Linked DNA regions of Homo sapiens: all the other regions are linked to region 3. Evidence: promoter capture Hi-C in 16 types of primary human blood cells and fetal thymus (Javierre and others, 2016). All regions are on one chromosome and are shown on one strand. The core of a region is centred on a gene start or on the middle of the fragment in contact, and the rest is flanking DNA. Distances in the headings are between cores, read along the strand shown. Region 1 overlaps REPS2 (RALBP1 associated Eps domain containing 2). Region 2 overlaps REPS2 (RALBP1 associated Eps domain containing 2). Region 3 holds the start of RBBP7 (RB binding protein 7, chromatin remodeling factor).

Region 1 (3,551 bases), core at 618-3,117, 130 kb before region 3:
TCATCAAGGTTCAAAGTTTTCTAAGTTTAAAATCTCCATGGAAAAGCTGTAAGTTGTGGGTCGAAATGCTTAATGGTATCTAAAGAAAATAAGGTGAAAAAAAAAGTTTATCCCAGATACTCAATTAGTGGAGATATTTGATATAATTGATCCTTCAAACAATCCAAATCACTGGGCTTTCCTCAAAATAAAGGGGAAAAAAATGAAAAGATTCCACTCCTCTTCTTTAGTCTAAACTCCAAACCTGTAACACTCCCAGCTGGATCCAACTCCCAGCTGGATCCATCTTAGGTTACACATTGTGCAAATTCCTAATACAGAATAAGAACCTATGGAGTAGTGTTTTCTCAGGTGGAAGGCAAGAGATGAAAAAAAGAAATAGATTAAATCAACTTCCTTACAGCTTACGGATGTACACTAAATGGCTGGGATGCTGGATACAAATCAGAAAAATTCACCGACCATTTGGGAGAAATCTGAACAAAGTTCTGGAAGAAGGTTGAAGGCCACTAACATAGCTTCCCTCCTACCTAATTCTATAAGATTAGGCGACTGTGCTGAGTAACCATGTTCCAGTTTGCCTGAAATAATACTTTCTTTCCTGGCTGAAATGTAATACATTTTCAGAACTGTTCAAAGGTTTAAATAAGCTTCTCTCAAGTATTATTAAAGGTTTCCTTAGAAAGATTTGAAAATGTAAAAACTCCTAGTAGGAGGGGCTGGAAGAATTCTCCAAGAGCACCCCATTTTCTACTCTCCCTCTGCTGCAGCTAGCAAAATCCAGATTCTTTGCTCTCGCCTCGACTGTTTCAAGTCCTGTCTCCAGACTCACACACCTTCACACACCAGCTTCTACATTCCCTCCGTGACCTCTTATCAAAACCACATCACCCTCCAACTTCAAAGGGCTTCTGGGACTCTTCACGCCCTTCCTGTGAAACCAAGCATGGCTTCTGAGGCCCTCCTGTCTGGCCCAAACTACCTTTCCAACATCGTCATGTCTCTCTCCTCCCCACCCTACAGCTAATTAAGACTTTAGTCACACCAGATGCCCATTTCTTTGCCTGCCAGGCTCATTCTTCAAGTCACCTCAAGACCAACCTTATCTTTGAAACTGTAGTCAATTCCACATGGCATGTTCTCTGCATTCCCATAACACTTTTTACTAGCTTTCTAACACATCCCTAGCCTTGCAACACAGCACAATTGGTATTTTGATAATTATCTCCACTGTAGCCCATCTCCTTTCCCTATGCCCTAAGTGCCCAGCAGAAAGCGAGGGTATATTCTTATTATTTGTATCCCCCAGGACTCATACTTTACTATGCCTGCTATATGCTCAGTAGCTCAATAAATAAATGTTGAATTAGTCTTCACAGCCTGTTGCATCAGAATCTTTCTTCTTCCCCTCCATTTTTATTACTTTTACAAGTAGCTGCTAAATTGGCTTTAGTCATCTCACACCATATAGCCATAAGAGTTCCTGCAGGAATATAAGAGAATATTAATTTCTCTGTTCCCTTCCTGCTCAGCTAAGAGGGTACCGGTTAGGATCAAGGCATAAGGAAAGGCATCCACCATTCTTTATCCTGGCCCTAGCCCTCATAGCCCAGGAGAATACCTCAGTGATGCTCCAGCCAGTCAGAACTCCAGAGATGCACCTCCTACTCAGCACAGCCCCAGGAGGTGTCAACCCTCCCCAAGTGGGCAAACTCAGCAACAGAAATACAGAAGAGAATCTGAAGTACATGCTTACAAATTGTACCTCAGCCTCTCAGGGAACAGCTGAACACGCAGGTCAACCTCTATGCTGGGTTTTCCTTTCCCATTCATTTATACTGTAACATTCAAGAGAGACTTTCAGTCCAGAGGGACATGGGTGAGCTACTCAAGAAAACATGAACCCCCATATCTGATTACCCAACATTAGGCATTATAGTATATGCCTAAGCCAAATGACACTGCTAAAGAGAGGGCAGACAGGCAGTGCTGAGGTGTGATTTCAGAGAATCCTACTAAAACCTTAAAGTACTTGTTAGTTTAACAAGTTTTGGTTGGGCACCTCCCTATCAAAAGCAATGTGCTGAGTGCTATGCTAAGAACTGAGCAGCAATGCACAGAATCACCTATTCTACATACACACAAACTCACACACATTCTCTCTCTCCCTCCCTCCTTCCCTCCCATTTTGCCAAACCATCTGAAAAGTGGGTTACAGACACACCTCATGACACACCACCCCTAAGTACTTTACTATTCACCTTCTAAGAACAGGGATATTTTCGTACACCACCGCACCATCATCACCACACCCAAGGAAATCAACTTTAACACAATATTATCATACAACATGATATGGTTTGGCTGTGTCCTCACCCAAATCTCAACTTGAATTGTATCTCCCAGAATTCCCACGTGTGTGGGAGGGACTTGAACAATTAGGGGGAGGTAATTGAATCACGGGGATCGGTCTTTCCCATGCTATTCTTGTGATGGTGAACAAGTCTCATGAGATCTGGTGGGTTTATCAGGCGTTTCTGCCTTTGCTTCTTCCTCATTTTTCTCCTGCCACCACCATGTAAGAAGTGCCTTTTGCCTCCTGCCATGATTCTGAGGCTTCCCCAGGCATGTGGAACTGTAAGTCCAATTAAACCTCTTTTTCTTCCCAGTCTCGGATATGCCTTTATCAGCAGCGTGAAAATGGACTAACATACAACATATGGTCCACATTCACATTCCCTTGATTATCCAGAAAATGCCTACAGAGCTGAATTTTCTTTTCCTCATCCAGGATTTAGTCAATGTTCATGCACTGCATTTTTATCTCATTTTCCCTTAGTCTCCCCCTAATCTAGAACAATCCCCCTTGGTTCTTAATGACACTGAATCATTTAAGAATCCAGGCCAGTTGTCCTCAGAACATCCCATGTTTTGGATTTGTCTGTTTTATTGTGATTACATTAAAGTCAAAAGTTTCTGGCAAGAACACCACACAGGTGATACTGAGATATAGTGAGAGGTACACAGCAGTGAGGGGCACACAATGTCAGAACATCCCACCATTGGTACTGATTGCAAAGCTTGGTCATTTGATTAATGTGGTGACTGCCAGATCTCTTCATTGCAAAGCTATGTTTTTACATTGTACTTTAAGACCATGTGAGTGTTCTATCCCTTGAAAAGTCAGCTTTAAAATCAGTTAAATACTAATTTTCTAGGTAAGTCTAGCTAAATCATATCAGCATCTACAGAACTAGAATACTAATGCAAAATCACAAAGATGGGGGTAATATTTTTTCCATGAGATAGGTGTCATTACACTCAGTTTATACACAAATAAACCTTCCCAATTCAGAAAGTTAAGTGATATGTTCAAGGTCACAAATTCAGAGCCAGTACTCAAACCTACATGCATCCAGGTCCAAAGCTCATGGTCTTTCCATTACATCAGTGGTTGGAAAACTACCGCTCATGGGTCAAATCCAGCCCACTGCTTGGTTTTCTATGGCCCACAAGGAGAAAATAAATGGTATTTACAGATGAACATTTGC
Region 2 (3,647 bases), core at 367-2,866, 190 kb before region 3:
CTGACTTTGACTTCTATCATCTTGCAGTGGTTTCAACTAGGGTCAGAGGACTCTAATAGTCTCTGACTATTATGGAGTCTGTGAATAAAGCTCCATTTATTAAACATTTCCAGATCTTTTAAGGAAGGGAAAAGCAGGTATCCTAAATTGTCATCACAGTAATCATAATGGTGATGATGATGATAATGACAATGGTGATGACAACAATAACTATAACAACTCCTATTTATTGATCCATAGCTAAGGCTTCCTAAGCACTTGGCTAAGCCCTTCCATCCATGGCCCAACACTGGGGGAATTCTCCAAGTTCCTTCTGGGGATCATCCAAATCAGTCCTCATTTGGTTCAAAAGCTAAAAACCCTGAGGGAGTTCCGAATGTGATTTGGGGCCCTCATATAAAGTTCTCAAACCTCTTCTCAAAACAGTTCTGATTCAGTATAGCTTATTAATGCCCAACTGATAAAAATAGAATCAAAATTGTTTACTAGGGAATTAAAGCTTGGTTAAAGTAAATAACTTGGCTAGAATTTTCTGTCTTAGTTTGGCTATATCTACATTTCACATCTAGAAGGTCTAGAGATTATGTTACTTACTTTACCACATCCAGTTTTAGGGAGAAAAGGGAAAAAAATTATAGATACATCTGGTGTCTAGATCTGAAAGGCTGAGCATCAAAGTATTAATAATTACCAAGTATGAAAAGGAAATGTTATAAAAGCTCATTTTCAAACAAAAAAAAAGTTCATTTTCCAGAATTTGTAAAGAACATAGGCCAATGGATTTAGCTCCATACACATCCTTATTTATTAGCATATGAAGATCTTTTACCTCCATCCGATTCAAGTCACGAGGTTGTTGATTTGCCGGCAGTGACTCAGAATAAGAATCAAATAATTGACAGTCCCATTTGGGCTTAGGAAAAGCTAAGAAGAAACAAAAAGAATATATCAGAATATTTCCTATAGCCATAGTAATCAGTGTTTCCCATCAGCTTTTCTGTGCTTGTTAAATATAACAACAAAATCAGCTAGCTCTGATAGACCACATATGGCATTCATCATGCTGAGGTAGTACTTTCAGTTCTTTATATGGACAACCCAGTACTTCTATTATCCCCATTTCACATGTGATGAAACTGAGAACAGGGCAACTTACTCAAGGTCATACAGCTGATAAATGGAAGAGCAGGGACTTGAACTCTCAGCAGTCTGGCTGAAGGGTATGTGCTCTGAACACTTCATGTTATAGCATAGTAATTTTCCACAATAACCATCACTATCACAATATGTAAGTCTTAACTATGTTACTAGTGTAGTTTCTAATGTATAGGGACATTAACTAAGGAAATACATCATTTAACTATTGTTAGAAATAGGCAAGATCTTATAATGATGTGCACCCAACATGATTTTACGAAATATTTATCTCCTTGGTTGGCAGGAATGATAAAAATAAGAGCATAAATTCTTGCTGATTTACAACAAAGAAAAAAAGAATCACATTAAGGGTTTCTTTCAATATGCAATAGTGACACTGGCTGTTATTTCGGTAGTTGAGTGAATTCACACGAGGAAAGATCAGGCTACTTGGTAAGCTAATTACTTCACACCAGGCTATGTCTTAGAAGCGGATTCTGCTTCACTACTTTGTCACAAAGTAATTAGGAAAGAAATATCTCAACAGCTAGAAAATTTGTCAATATTCCAAAGAGGAAAAGCAGACTGTGGCAGATAATAAACAGAAGCTACAAATCAAATTTGTCACAACAAGCTATTAGGAAATAAAATTGTAATGCAAGGTTTAAAAAAATTTGAATCAAATGTGAAAAGTGGATTGGCATTGTTTTTAATCCTTCCCCACCCTCCCACTCCCATCAGGGACTGAAATGCCAATATCCTTCTGCAGTAAAGTACTGGCCATTGGCCAGGCATGGTGGCTCACACCTGTAATGACAGCACTTTGGGAGGCCAAGGCAGGAGGATTGCTCGAGCCCAGGAGTTTGAGACCAGCCTGGGCAACATAGTGAGACCCTGTTTCATCTGTCTTTGTATCTACCTACCTACCTACCTACGTGTCTATCTAATTTAAATAAATACATACATGCATACATACATACAGTAAGTAAGTAAGGAAGTACTGGTCTGAGTATCAGCACCACATGGAGTTGAGTACAAGCACCTTAATTTGTTCATTTGCTTACTCTGGTCTGAATTTCACCGATTTCTCTTTCTAGTCTATCAATCAAGGCTCTGACTGGTATTATATGACTGATGCTTTATCATGAGCGGATCTTCCTGTGAAGAAAGCTAACACTTTCCAAAACTATAATTTTGTCAATTACCTGCTAAATCTCTCTCCAAGGTGTCCACATCTCTCCATATCACTGTCACCTCCCCATTGCAAGCACCCCGCTGCTCCTGACTGGCCAGCTACCACAACTTAGTCTTCTGGTTTCTACCCGTGCCCCTCAAAACCTGTTCTCTGGACAGTAACCTGCATGATCATTTCACATAGCAAATCTGATTGTGTCACTTATCTGCCTAAAATAAGGTGACATTATTGCCCGTCATATGTTCCCCACCTTCTTCCTCAGCTTCAACCCAGCCTCTCTACCCCGGTTCTGTGCACGCCAGCCACTGTGGCCTGAAATTCCCACTCCTCCTATGCTCCAAGCCCCCTCTCAGAGCCTCCCCAGCATACCTGCTGTTCCCCCTTCCCAGAACCTAAGCTTCTCTCTTCTTCACCTATGTAGTCCTTAGCTCAGCCTTCACATCTCAGCCCAAACGTTTAAGGAAATCTTCCCTAAGATCATGCACCCTCTTGCTGCACCTGTACTTCCCCTTCATGGCACGTATCAACTGCCCACAAGTTCATGGGAGTAGGAGCTCTGTCATACAGCATTCTGACCACAGTGAACAATGTGGTACCTCTCACGCAGTAAGTACTCCATAGGTATTTTTTAACAAACTCTATGGCAAAAATTTCTACCAGAACCCACCCAATCACCTATCAAAAGGTGACTTTTTTTATTTTTTTATTTTTATTTTATTTTATTTTTGAAATGGAATCTCACTCTGTCACCCAGGCTGGAGTGCAGTGACGCAATCTCGGCTCACTGCAACCTCTGCCTCCCAGGTTCAAGCAATTCTCCTGCCTCAGCCACCCGAGTAGCTGGGGACCACAGGTGCACGCCACCGCACCTGGCTAATTTTTGTATTTTTTGGTGGAGACAGGGTTTCACCATGCTGCCCAGGCTGGTCTCAAAATCCTGACCTCAATTGATCCTCCTGCCTCAGCTTCCCAGAGTGCTGGGATTACAGGCGTGAGCCACCCCACCCAGCTGAAACTATCAAAAGGAGACTTTTGATGAAACTATCAAAAGGAGACTCTTGATGAAACTATCAAAAGGAGACTCTTGATGAAACTATCAAAAGGAGACTTTTGATGAAACTATCAAAAGGCTAGCGGGTAAGCCACCAACTAATACAACTCTGTCCTTGAAGTTTTACTATTAGGGAAAAGGGACTATTTCCATAATTGCAAGTAAAATGGCATCAGATACAATTCCTGTTCCATTATTTTAGAAAACAGGCCAGGTGTGGTGGGTGGTTCATGCCTGTAATCCCAGCACTTTGGGAGGCCGAGG
Region 3 (3,463 bases), core at 632-3,131:
ATTTCTTTTAATAGGTTTTGGAAATCATGTCTACTTGTCAGAAATGAGTACACTGTATTAAAGGGATACAAATCATCTCCCAAGCCGCCTCTTGCTTTGCACACGAGGTTCTCTTTGAAGCAGAGCCATAAGGTACAATTATTCTAGAACAAGGTGGGCAAACTACAGTCCTCCGACTAAATCTAACCCACCACATGTTTTTGTATGACCCTCGAGCTGAGAATGGTTTTTCCGTTTTCAAGTGATAGAAAAAAAAAATCAAAAGATTTTGTGACCCGTGAAAACGATTTTAGTGTCTGTAGTTTTATCGGAACGCAGCCAAATGCATCCATATTTTCCATGGCTGCTTTGCGCTGCAAAGCGACAGAGTCGAGCAGTTGCCCCCAAAGCCTAAAATATTTACTATCTCGGTCCTTTTAGAAAAAGTCTTGCCAACTAATGTCCTAGAATATGAGGGCTGTATTGCTTAAACACCCTTCCAACTCTCTTCCCTCTCTAGCCACCCCCTCAGCCTTAGGCACTAACAAGATTCCTTGACCCAGAATGGGGGGAGGGCGTTATAATAATGAACGGTATTGTATCGGAAACAACACAGTAAATATCTACAGAAGGGAATGTGACTGGTTCTGCCACTGACTAACGTCTGGGTTTGCGTCCCGGTCAGAAAAGTGGGCATGACAGCGGCATCTGCAAGATAGCATCTGAGCATGAAGGCACTTGGAAAGGTATCAAGGCAGCAAATGTTCCGGGGGTGCTTTTGCAAGAGGAGCCTCTCCCGGAGCTGGACGTACACTTCGGTTCCCTTTGCACGCAGGCACCTTGGTCGCCTCCCCCAACTCCGTCCCCTCTGCTCCTGGCCCTCATTTTCTTCTATTTCCCTTTTGGCCTTGCAGCCAGCTTTCTCCTCCCCCGACACACTCCTCAGGGGCTATGAAGTTCCTGAGCAGAGCAGGGCTCAGGTAAGCAGGCCCAGGGTAGTTCAGCCCTGCTCTCTCCAGCTCCGCCAGCTTGGGGTGGGGTCGCGCTGGGACCCCTGCAGGTGACAAAAATGACTCAGCAGGGGCCGGGGCTGGGATGAGAAAGGAACGCCAGTGCAGGGACAAAATCCCCTGAAGCGCGAAGAGGCCGCAAACCATCATCTTAAGGACCCAAACATCGAACAAATTAAAATGTAACAGTGTAAATCGGCTTCGGCCCGCCGGCGGCCTGTGCCGCCACAGGCTGCACATTTAGCCTAACAGGGCGGCCCGGCGGCTTTTGCAGGCAGAAAACGCCCGCGGCCTCTCCAAAAGCTCTCCTCCGTCTGAGACCAGCCCCACCTCGGCCCGACCGGGCCCCAGGAAAGGCCAGTCGGCTGGAGGAGAACATTTCAGGGGTGCAGAGAATTGCATGTCCGTGATTATCAGGGAGACTTTGAAGGCACAGTAATCTCTCGAGAACAGGAACCATTTTCCCCTCTTGCTCTGAGATTTTGCTTGGCTAAGCGGCGGCAGCCTCCCTGCCCCCCTCTCACCCCCACCACCGCTGCCGCTACAAGCAACCACGCCCCGCGGGCCCCAAGGCTCGCCGCCCCGGGGCTCGCGGCCCCCACTCAGCCGGCCAGCCGCGCCTCCATCAGCCCCGCCCTCGCGCGCCCCCATCCGCCCCGCCCCCTCGGGCCCTCATCCGCCCCGCCCCCGCGCGCCCCATCCGCCTCCGCGGCCGGCCCTGGGAGCGCCGGGCGAGCCCTCGCGCCTGCGCATCGCCAACTTCCTGCCGCGGCACGCTCCGCCCACCCCCAGAAGCCCGCCTCCGAACGCCGCGTGAAACCCGCCCGCCGCGCGTCATTGGTCTCGGCGCCGGAGCCGTTGGCTCCCAGACCCGCCTCTCCGCCTCCTCTCACTTTTCCCAGGGCGGATGCGCCTGCGCTCAGCTGCCTGGGCGGGCTGGGAGGCGCGGGTTGAAAAGTCTCGTTCCAAGTTTGGAGAGAGAGAGAAGAGCGCCTCAGACCTCGGTACCCGCGAGCGGGGAGGAGGCAGGAAAGAAGGACGCGGCGTCTGGGGAGCACCCAGGCAGCAAGACGGGGCCCGGGCTTTCGACAGTGGGGAGTGTGACGCGCTTGGGAAAGGCAGGAGCGCCAGCGGTCGGGCTGCTCTTGGCTAACGAGAGGAGTCCGAGGCGGCGGCGAGGGGCGAACGACCCGACGCAAGATGGCGAGTAAAGAGAGTAAGAGGCCCTGCGGGGCGGCGCGCGCCGGGGCCGCGGGGGGCGGCGGGCGCGCGAGGCCGCGGCACGCGCCGGCGAAAGGCGCGAATTGGCGTGCGGAGCAGGGGGCGGGGCCGGGCGCGAGACTGGGCGCGCGCCTCGAGGGGCCTGCGCGGGACGGGACCGCCGCGCCGAGGGCTCCGAGCACTTCCGGAGCCGGGCGCGGGGCCGAGGGCTGGGCCCCCCTCTTCCCTTCCCTCCTCCAGCGGCTGCGCTCCCTCCGGCGCCCTCGGCCCCGGGGCGGAGGCGGCCCCCGCCGCTGGGAAGCGAGCGCCGCGGCTCTTTCTACGCGCGCGCGCGCGTTGACCGCCTCGGGGTCGCGGCCCTTGTCCGGGGGTTGCTGGGGTCCTCAGGCCTATGGCTGCCGAGGCGGGCGTCGTGGGAGCTGGGGCCTCCCCTGATGGGGATTGGAGAGACCAGGCCTGTGGGCTTCTGCTACACGTGCATTTGTCTTCCCGACTGGGTCGCGCAGCCCCTGTACGTACAGGTCGTCATCTTAGAACAGGTGCGAACAGCTGTAACAGGGTAAACAATTTCCATGTCCGTGTAATTGACTACCCAACATGGTGTACGCAGGGGGTATTGATCTCAATGGAAAAAATAGGCTTCCTGATTGTTAGTATTTTCTCCACCTTCTGGAAGAGCAGTTAGTTGTCCGTGTCCAAATTAGAGGTAAAAGGAAAGAGTACATGAGGTGTGGCCATCTTGAGGTGACCTCCAATTTCTGACTTTGATCTATCTCAGCCACTTAATCGTGTGGGCTTTCTCCAAATTTCAGTGTTTGAAGATACTGTGGAGGAGCGTGTCATCAATGAAGAATATAAAATCTGGAAGAAGAATACACCGTTTCTATATGACCTGGTTATGACCCATGCTCTTCAGTGGCCCAGTCTTACCGTTCAGTGGCTTCCTGAAGTGACTAAGTAAGGGTTTCTGGCAACTTTTATTTTGTTTAAATTTAACTGTCGTTCTGAATTTCCTAGTTTTGGCGTTTTATGCATAGAACATAAGTATGTAATCAGCCCTTGCATGAGGTGGCAGGTGGTTTTTATTTTCAAAACTTACGTGATTTGTGGGATGATTTCTGGTGTATAGTGTGGTGGTAAAAGGGGAGAAAGAAGCTGTTGTGAGATTAATCGTGTTTGGAGGAAGCACTGAATATATTTGACATTTCCTGGGCTTGAATGTAGAGCAGCATCTTTCTGGGCCCAAACTAATG

What was found. The method cuts DNA at HindIII sites, captures the fragments that hold promoters and counts their contacts. A CHiCAGO score of 5 or more calls a contact.
Region 1: a fragment that was not itself captured here is called in contact with the fragment with the promoter of RBBP7 in region 3 in 1 of 17 cell types (neutrophils); the score reaches 5.5 in neutrophils.
Region 2: a contact is called between a fragment that was not itself captured here and the fragment with the promoter of RBBP7 in region 3, in 5 of 17 cell types (M1 macrophages, naive B cells, erythroblasts and 2 more). The highest score is 6.9, in M1 macrophages.

Annotation. Positions count from the first base shown.
Region 1 is chrX:17,000,837-17,004,387 of GRCh38, reverse strand. All of the region lies in intron 1 of REPS2 (RALBP1 associated Eps domain containing 2), which reads right to left. Among named protein-coding and RNA genes, the nearest start is that of REPS2, 56 kb to the right of the region's middle. The HindIII fragment of the contact is 2,430 bases long and covers 653-3,082 here.
Region 2 is chrX:17,059,715-17,063,361 of GRCh38, reverse strand. It overlaps REPS2 (RALBP1 associated Eps domain containing 2), which reads right to left. Exons shown (of 18, transcript NM_004726.3): 9 at 830-924. Among named protein-coding and RNA genes, the nearest start is that of REPS2, 110 kb to the right of the region's middle. The HindIII fragment of the contact is 2,230 bases long and covers 502-2,731 here.
Region 3 is chrX:16,868,780-16,872,242 of GRCh38, reverse strand. RBBP7 (RB binding protein 7, chromatin remodeling factor) reads left to right here and starts at 1,881. Exons shown (of 12, transcript NM_002893.4): 1 at 1,881-2,205; 2 at 3,023-3,167. The coding sequence starts at 2,190. RefSeq lists enhancers at 1,187-1,865, 2,875-2,964 and silencers at 1,605-1,914, 2,245-2,294, 2,315-2,654. The HindIII fragment of the contact is 7,607 bases long and covers 1-3,463 here.